Regions from separate parts of the Homo sapiens genome. Here region 1 is linked to region 2. Evidence: promoter capture Hi-C in human tissues and cell types (Jung and others, 2019). All regions are on one chromosome and are shown on one strand. Each heading gives the region's core, a stretch centred on a gene start or on the middle of the fragment in contact. The rest is flanking DNA. Distances are from core to core; before and after follow the strand shown.

Region 1 (4,739 bases), core at 1,534-4,033, 290 kb after region 2:
ATGGGCCAAGAGAAATGGAGGAGTCTGTTCTCCAAAGAACAGTAGTCAGGGGGCTGGATGGGGGGCTACTTGTGGGCAATGATGGCACCCAGTCCCCCTGAGCCGGGCAGAGGACCTGGCCAAGGAAGGGCCGTGGCTTCTTTGTGACTAGGCAGGGGCAGGAGCGACTGTCAGAATGTGCTCTGAGTTGGGGGTGGGGGCTTTTCCGGAGAGGACCGAGGTGACTGGAGAAGCCTGGAGCCACCCAAAGTCAGAGACCCAGGAAGGGGCAGACAGAGTCTTCAGGCTCTTCATTTTGCCTCTTCATGATTTTCTGTCAGAAATAACCATTGGCTTTTCTTCATTCAACCAAATTCTGTCAAGTGCCTAGAGAGGGCCCATGCTGTCCTGGGCATGAGGGAGGCAGCTGGGAAGAGGCAGAGACCCTGCCCTCGTGGACCAACTCTCAGTGCGTTACGCTGTTGACCACCAGTAACTAAGCGGGTGGACGAGGGGAGGGTCAGGGAGTGTGAGTCAGCTCGGGCTGCTGTGACAAGCCCCACAGACCAGGAGCTTCAACAACAGGCATTTGTCTCCCACAGCTGTGGAGGCTGACCAGAGTGCGGTGTCGCAGCGTTGGCTTCTCCTGCGGCCTCTCTCCTGGGCTGGCAGCCAGGGCCGCCTTCTCCCTGTATCCTCGCGTGGTCTTCCTTCTGTGTGTATTTCTGTCCTAATCCCCTCTTCTTAGAAGGACACCAGTCAGACTGGATTAGGGCCCACCCTAAAGACCTCATTTTAACTTGATTACCTCATTAAAGGTCCCATCGCCAAATAAGATCACATTATGAGGAGCTCTGGGGGTCTGGACATCAACATATGAATTGGGGAGACACAACCAGCCCATCACAGGAGACTTCTCTGAGATGTGACCCTGGAATTGAGGCCTGAGTGGCAAGGTGGGGCCATGACTTGTGTGATCCAGGGCGGAGGTGACTCCCATAGCAAAATCACAGGGCTGGGCACAAGCTTGGCTTGTCTGCACTGCCTGCACGGGGACGAGCAGGTTGGAGCCAGCCTGGATGCCGAGGGGCCAGTGAGGAGGGGCCAGTGAGGAGGAGCAGGTGAAGAGCCCTCCTCACCTGTACACACGGAGTCCTGCTAAGTCTCAGCTCCAAGTGGCTCAGACCCACCTGCTACTCTCCAGTCGCACCCACCACCCAGCCCAGCCCCAGCACCACTCCTGGACAGCTGTCCTAGCCTCCTGACTGGTGTCCCAGCTCCATCAGAACCACGGACCACACAGCATCAGGTTAATCTTTTCAACACCCAGATCCCACCTCGGGCTCGCCCACTCACAACTCTCCTGTGACCTCCTCTGGTGACCATCATGACTGTGAGTGACCAGGCCCTTTCCCATCCTCTCCTGCAGCCACACTGACCCTCCAGGGCTCCCCTTCTCAGGCCCTTTGGGCATACGGCTCCCTCCACCATCCCCAAGCCTACTCCTGACCAATCCACATTCACCCTTCAGGTCTTGCCAGACCCCAACTCTTTAGGGAGGCCCCACCTCCATCTACAGCCTCTTCCTAACGTCTTTCACGGCCCCTGGACTTTTCTGTCCTTCATGTATTTTTGTGATGACTTCATTGAGGTCTGCTCCTTCGGGGGGGGAGGTTGCGGGGTAAGCTCTGTGAGGTCAGGGGCCATGCCATTGCTAAGGACAGTGGCTGGCTCAATACTTCATCCTTCGGTGAATTAAAGAACCAAGTCAGCAGCTTGGGCTGGCAGGGCCTTAGAAGTCACCCAGCCCAGGCTGACACCCTGCACGGCGCCCCCGAGAGCTGAGTGTCCGTGTCTGCTCGCACACTCCTGTTGCACCCTTCCCACCGCCATCCCCTGCTCAGTAAAGTTGGGGGGGTTCCCGAATTCAGGTAGGGACCAGAGAGGAGTCACAGAGGACCCCTGAGGACTGTCCCCCCACCCCTTGTGATTTATTTTCCGCCCTTCCTCTGCTGCATCCCGCCCCCCTACCCCAAGCTGTTCTTCCTGCTGTTGTTCTCTTGTTTTCACATGTTGCTCTCTGTTTCCTGTAAGGCTGCTTCACTCAGGAAACGCCATGCAGCAAAGGAAGCCGCTGTGTGCGAACCTCCAGGACCTCCCAGAGTAGGTGCTGCAGCGTGGCCGTGGCCTGATGGCCCAAAGTAGCCTGGCTGGGTTCTGAGGGACCTGTCAGCTCTGCAGCTTCCTGAGACTTGCTGAGTCACTGAGCGGCTCAGAGCATAGGAAGCAGAGAGAAAAAGACAGCAGTGACATTTTTCATCTATTCCAGAATAAACTGAGCCCAGGCGGTGTAATGGGCTTTTGATGCGTCCCCCTGGCTTTGATGTGATGCCTTGACCGCTCCCTTGGTTACAGCAAGTTAACCGGTCAAACACTAAGCTACAGTTGCTGTACAGGTATTCTGCATATGGATTAAAGTCTGTCATCAGTTGACTTTAGGTAAGGGACATTATCCTGGCTGGTCTGGGTGGGCTTCAAGAGCCAAACAGGCTTCTGTGTGAAAGAGAAGTTCCACCTGTGGACAGAAGGGTGTGGAATCCATCTACAGCCAGGCCTACAAGCTGTAGCTCTTTCTGAAGGACTTTATGACAAGGAAGTGGGCTGTGTGATTGTGGGGGCTGGCTAAGCAAGCCTGAAGTCCACAAAAGGGAAGCTGGCAGGCAGGTGGAGCTCATGGGCACGCCCGTGTCTAGAGCCTCTGGGGAAGCCCATAAGCCGTGCCCGTGAGCTCCACCTGCCTGCCAGCTTCCCTTCTGTGGATTCCAGACTCATTTAGCCAGCCCCCGTGATCACACAGGCCACCTGCTTGTCATAAAGCCCTGGAGACAGAGCTACAGCTGCAGGCATGGCTGTAGATGGATTCCACACACTGGCCCCACTTCTCTGGTCAAACCCTGACTCGTACAGGGCCTGAGGCAGGAGGGGGCGGAACTGATTAAGGAACAAAAGCTAACATTTTTGAGCACTCACTGGGTGTTAGGCACTGCACTAAGGACTTTATCTGTACAACCTTATTGCACTCCCAAGCAGTGCTGTGAGTGGTTTATCAGTGATGATGCTTTATGCTGCAAGAACATAAAACCCAACTCAGAATGGCTTAAACCACAAGGACATTTATTATCTCATGTGAGAAGTCCAGGGGAGAGCAGTTCCTTGGCAGTTCAGTAAAGTTTTCAAGGACCTGATTCATCTTCCACTCTGTTTTCCTCAGCTTGTCATTTTGGCCTGTCAGCAAGGACCCCTCATGGTTGCAAGAGAGCTGCCATGGCCTCAGGCATCACTGCCATATCCACGGGTCCTCCTGGCAGACTTCCCCTCACCTCTCTTTGGCCAGAATTGCATCACATGCCTGTTTCTAAACCAATCTGAAGGAAGCTTCATGATTGAGGCTTCGTGAAGGCGGCTTCATGATTGGCTCAGGCCAGTCAAGTCTCTCTGGGAGCACAAGGCCACAGTCGGGGTTGAGCTGACAGCAGATGGGGTGTGGTTGTTTGGATGGCTGAATTTGGTTTCTATCACAACCATAGCCGATCACCACACTCTTAGTGACTTGAAACAACACCCACCTGTGACCTCATAATTCCGTAGGCCGGAAGTCCAGGCGGGCGTGGCGGGCTTCTCTGCACAAGCTCGCACAAGGCCGAAAGCAAGGCACCCTTGGCCGGGTCTGGACCCCCTGGGAAAGCCCGTTCCAGTGTTGGCAGAATCCAGCTCCTTTTGGCCGTGGGACCGAGGCCCTATTTCCTTGCCGGCTGTCAGCTGGGGTTGCTCTCTGCATTCCTTCACCCACATTGCTTTCATCTTCCAGCCAGCAACGACCTGCCCCATGTCCTTCTCACACTTCACATCTCTCTCACAGCCTCTTCTACACCAGCCCAGAAAGCTATCTGCATTTCAAGGGACTTGTGTGATTAGACAGGGATAATCCCGTCTTCTGGTCAGCTGTGCCACAGAACATCATGCCATCTCTGAGTGACAGGCTCACTTCACTCACAGGCTTTGAGAATTAGGGTGTGGAACTTGGGGGCCCATTCCTAGACATTCTGCCCACCCCCGTGAGGCAGACATTTCACTGGAAAGAAAGTTAACCTCAGAGAAGTGAAGTGAGTTCCTCAAGGCTGTACCAGCCAGGAAGTTATGGCTGCAAACAACAGAAATCAATGCTGCTCATTGAAGCAAGAAAATAACAGCCCTCCCTCCTGGCTACCATATAGTATGCAGTCCTGGCCATACAAGAGGGTCCCTGTGCCCCTCAGGGTGGTCTTTTTATCCCCAGCCAGATGCTTGGTTTCAATTATTCTATAACCTAATAGGATTAGTTATCTTAGGAAATCCAGAGGTGCTGGCTGGCCTTGGGAGTAAAGATGAGACCTCAGTTCTCCAGGCTCATTAAACATGTTTGCCTCCATAGGGAGACAAATTGTCTCCATAGGGAGCAGAAGTCATCAGTTAAATCCGGGGTTAGCAAACTACAGCCTGTGGGCCAGTCCAGCTCCACCCTTATTTTTATACAATCCACAAACTAAGAATAGTTTTTACATTTTTAAATGGCTAGGAAAAAACTAAAAAAGGGATATTTCATGACATATGAAAATTTCATAAAATTCAAATTTTAGTGTCGATGAATAAAGTTTTATTGGAACACAGCCATGTCCACTTGTTTACATATTTTCTGGGACTGCTCCTGTGCAGAGTGGAGT
Region 2 (4,607 bases), core at 1,221-3,720:
GGCACGTGATGCCAGTTCCTTGATTCGAGTCCCCTCCTGCTCCTTGGGAATGATTATCTGCAGCTCCTGGCTCTATCCTCTTGGCTCATGGGTTTCTTCTAAGTTGTCCTTTCTTTCCCATAGGAAATAGTCCATGTTTGCATCTGAATAGCCTTCTCAGAAGGCTTCTTAGAAGGCTGGGGCCCACATGTCCCATTTTATTTTTGTGCTCTGCCTTTTCTGGTATAATTGTCCCTTGCTATTTGTGGTGGATTGGTTCTAGGACTCAGATGCTCAAATCCTGCAGTCAGCCCTGCCAAACCTGGGGATGAGGACTACTGCATTCCCAGTTGCTACTTTACCTTCAAACCTAGCATTTTGATTGGCTGCCTAACGGGGTGGAATTATCATAACTCTTGGCCTTTGAAACTATTTTCAGTTTTCATTCCCCTGAATACTCTGCAAATTGTACACATTGAGCACCTACTGTACCCCAACACTGTTTCAAGAATCAGGGATATCGCAGTGAATGAGACAGACAAAAATAGCTGCCTTGTGGAGCTGCCATTCTAGTGGGGAAGACAGACAATATGCAAATAAGTGAGTAGTATAAGAGGAAAAACTTTGGGAGGCTGAGTCGGGAGGATTACTTGACACCATTACTTGACACCAGGAGTTCAAGACTGCCTGGGTAACATAGTGAAAACTTCTCTTTACAAAAAAAAAAAAAAAATTAGCCAGCCATAGTGGTGCACGCCTGTGGTCTCAGCTACTCAGGAGGCTGAGACAGGAGGATCACTTGAGCCCAGAAGTTCAAGGCTGCAGTAAGCCCTGATTATGCCACTGCACTCCAGCATGGGCAACAGAGCAAGAACTTTTCTCAAAAAAAAAAAAAAGAAAAAGAAAATAAAAAAGAAAAAACAGAGGAGAAAAGCAGTAGGGAGATGTCAATTTTTGTGTTTGTATTGTGGTGACAGGGAGAGGGACTTCAGTTTTAAATAGGGAAGGCTATTTCACTGAAAAGGTTACTTTAAAGTCAAGACCAGAGGAAAGTGAGGGAGTGGCCAAGCAGATACCTGGAGGAAGAGCTTTCCAGGTAGAGAGAAGTACAACTGCAGAGGTCTGATGTAGATGTGTGCCTTCTCTTTTCTTTTTTGTTTATCTTTTGGAAGAGACAGTCTTGTTATGTTGCCCAAGCTGGTCTTGAACTCCTGGGCACATGCAAAGTGAAAGCAGAGAAAGAGTGGACTTACCCCAGAGGCGGATGGTTCTGCAGTGTGCAAGGCCATTTCAGAATACACATAGAGAAAACAGGAGAATAGGTGGTGAGGGTTTTGGGGAAAGAGCCAATTTTGGTTGAAAAAGTAGGGGAAACCCCAGACATTGTACCATCTCAGGGTTGAGACTGCTTGCCTAGCTTTTGAGATTTTTTTTTTCCCCAGACCCCTCAACTCCTGAGATCTTATCGGGAAGCTGCTGATCACCAGTTTTAGGTGTTTTTATCTATTGGGAGACTGCCTTTCTCTGGTCTGGCTGCAACCAATTATTATTTTAGAGAGACAGCTTAACCTGACAACCACGTCATGGTTGCCTCACATTGCTGGTCGGGGAGTGGCCCCTCTCCTGCCCTGCTCAGGTCTGACTACTTACTGTAACAATTGCAAGGTTTTTGGATGGAACAATTGAAAGAATGGAGCTTGCATGAACCAAAATAAGAAAAGACTATGAGAGGGCATTGTTGAAGATGGAGGCAAAAATTCTGAGTGGATCCTGATGTGTTCGGATGGGGCTGGTGCTTGGGAGGCTGCTCTGTGCTTACAAGAAGAGTTCTACCCGGTCCATCTTTATCACATCTTCTCTAATACTAAGTTCAGAGAGGCTTTAGCTCATTTTCCATTTTCTTGGGCTGTCTCCTCTGCCAGACAAAGTGCCTATTTCTCCTGTCTCTATCACCGAGCCACACAATTGCTGTAGTCATTTGCAGTCTACTAGAACGATAACACATATTGGCATCAGACAGATCTTGGTTCAAAACCTCGCTCCACCAGTTTCTGTGTTGAGCTAGACCAAGTGACATGATATACTGAGTCTCAGTTCCTTATTTGTAAAATGGTGATAATAATTTTTGGTTAAGTAATTAAAGTAAGGATAAATGATGCCTTTCGAAGAAGGACACAACTGGAATGGCCAGTTTACCCCTTGTCCCCTCTTCGGTGGCATTATTTATTCTGGAGTAAGGAGGGATGGCTGAGGGAATCTGTCTGTGGGTCCAACATGGCGCCGTCCTGCTCCTTGTATGAGCCTCAAAGATGGGGACAACCATTTGGGGGCAGACATGTTTGTAGCACGAGATCCAGGCTCAGTCCCGAGGCAGCCGGAACGTGACGCAAGGTTGAGGCGGGGCTCCTCCCCCGCACCCTGGCGTCGAGCGTCTCGTGACAGGTACTTCCGCTCGGGGCGGCGGCGGTGGCGGAAGTGGGAGCGGGCCTGGAGTCTTGGCCATAAAGCCTGAGGCGGCGGCAGCGGCGGAGTTGGCGGCTTGGAGAGCTCGGGAGAGTTCCCTGGAACCAGAACTTGGACCTTCTCGCTTCTGTCCTCCGTTTAGTCTCCTCCTCGGCGGGAGCCCTCGCGACGCGCCCGGCCCGGAGCCCCCAGCGCAGCGGCCGCGGTAAGCAGCGGGCCCAGCCCGGCCGGCGGCCTGGCCCCATCCCCCCCCTCAGCCCCTCGGTCGCCAGGGCCTCGCGTCCTCCCTGTCCTCCTGGGCAGGCTCCAGTCCCAGCCCTGGCCACGCGGGCACACCCGGCATCGCTCAGGCCCCCGGAGCAGGCCAAGACCCCACCCGGCTTGGAGAGGTCGGAGGTCGTCGGGCGTGACCTCTGGCCGGGTTGCCCGCCCCGGCCACCCGTCTCGGACGCTCTGTTTACTGTTGGCCTGGATCTCAGAGACCCGAGAGGGTTCCTTGACTTGGGCGGCCCTGCGCCGCGGCAGGACGCGCTGGCCAGTGGAGTTCCTTAGCGCGGCGAGCAGGAGGGTGTCAGAGCCCACGCCGCCCGCCGCCGTGCCCACCCGGCGGGCATGGGTCACAGGCGCTGGGGGCCGAGCCGCGTTCCCATCCGGTTCTTCAGTTGAACAGCCTGACCCTGTTAGTGGGAGTTCCCTGACGGCAACTGAGTCAAGGCAGTGAGTCAGGTCACGTGCGCTGGGCTCGCCTCGACACTTGTGTACATTGAGGCGCCTCTGGCGCTGGGAGACAGGGAGCTTTTTGTCCTAGGCATGTTACGGTAAATCCTGAGAGAAGTTTTTCAACTTAATCGAGGAAAGATGGTAGTTGGATGTAGAGTTGTGTTTCCATTCCGACCGTGTTTGGGGCCTCTTTCTGCATTCATTTTAGGCTTGATACCTAATGGGGTCATAAGGGGAATATTGAGAATATTGACAGCAAATATTTGAGCGTTTATTGTATGCTAGGCAGCGTGGCAAGACCTTTTAACAGATCATTATGTTTAGTTCTTTGAACAACCCTCTGAAGTACCACTGTTGTGCCCACTTAACACAGTGGGAAGTTGAACAGAGAGGCTAAGCCATTTGGCCAAGGTCACACAGCTAATAAGTTACGAAGCAGAGATGCAAGCCCAGGCAGTCAGACTCCAGAGCACTGTATTAAATTTCTAGGTTGTACTGCTTTCACGTACCCCTGAAGCTTGCTGGTTTATCTTTTGCTACCTGGTATCTGTACCTCAGTGCCTCCCACCACCTCCTTTCTTTCTATTGATGTCATTTGAAAGTCTTTCTGGTAGCATCAGTTCTCCCTTAAAGCCATAAGAAATGCCGTTTGCGACTTATCACACATATTGTGGTGTAGTGTCACCGAATTAGGAGCTCTTGAATACCGGCAGGGTACTTAACTGAGGTTTGAAAAATTTTGCAGGTAGGCCTGGCAAACCTGCCTAGTGAACCTTTCTTACAACCTTAGTTGATGGCTGTCCAGCCGGCTGGTTCTTCCCTATTCAAAATACTGCATCTTTGGTTTCCTAAAGAACGGACTCTTGTCTCTTTCTTGTGACTTAAGCAGCTGATGAAGCACATGATTTCTCATCCATGGATGAATAAAGTCTCCTCTTAGTGTGTTTCTCTCTTCAAACTTGGGAAGGTTTGTTCAGATTTGAGTTTAAGGACTGGAAGGTGAGTTAGGAGTACTTCTTCTGAAGAAGGGACCGGCTAAGTTAAAGCTTAGCGTTCACAATCCTGTTGTATTCATATTTGTCTTTTTTTTTTTTAACTTTGCTACCTAGCCTAAAATATTTAAGTGAGTAATAAGTACTGTGGCTTTATATAATGTTTGAGTTTAGAGTAATGATAGGCACCTTTTTATTCATTCATTAAGTATTTTGAGTATCCATTGAGTATCAGCAATGTATCAGGCATTGTGGGACATTGACTCAGGGAGATAGGCGTGGTTCCTGTCCTCAAGGAATTTTTAAAAGGTGAATGATCTTGGCCAGAAATTCTGTTGTGGAATAATTTGGCGGTAGAACTTGAGGCTTTTTGGAAAGAGTTATTTCTCATCTCTGCTGGTGAATCAGTAGTAACCCAAAGGATGGTGTTCTTCTGGCTAACTTTAAGGCTTT

What was found. The method cuts DNA at HindIII sites, captures the fragments that hold promoters and counts their contacts. A contact is called where the count stands out against the background at its distance.
Region 1: a fragment that was not itself captured here is called in contact with the fragment with the promoter of RAB7A in region 2 in 1 of the 25 tissues and cell types used here (bladder).

What each region holds. Positions count from the first base shown.
Region 1 is chr3:129,013,778-129,018,516 of GRCh38, forward strand. All of the region lies in intron 2 of EFCC1 (EF-hand and coiled-coil domain containing 1), which reads left to right. It also overlaps a transcript of CFAP92 not described here. Among named protein-coding and RNA genes, the nearest start is that of EFCC1, 15 kb to the left of the region's middle. RefSeq lists enhancers at 2,149-2,656, 2,370-2,479, 2,500-2,549, 3,227-3,728 and a silencer at 3,330-3,489. The HindIII fragment of the contact is 6,161 bases long and covers 1-4,739 here.
Region 2 is chr3:128,723,713-128,728,319 of GRCh38, forward strand. RAB7A (RAB7A, member RAS oncogene family) reads left to right here and starts at 2,471. Exons shown (of 6, transcript NM_004637.6): 1 at 2,471-2,647. RefSeq lists enhancers at 2,195-2,324, 2,354-3,338 and a silencer at 2,605-2,894. The HindIII fragment of the contact is 11,719 bases long and covers 1-3,943 here.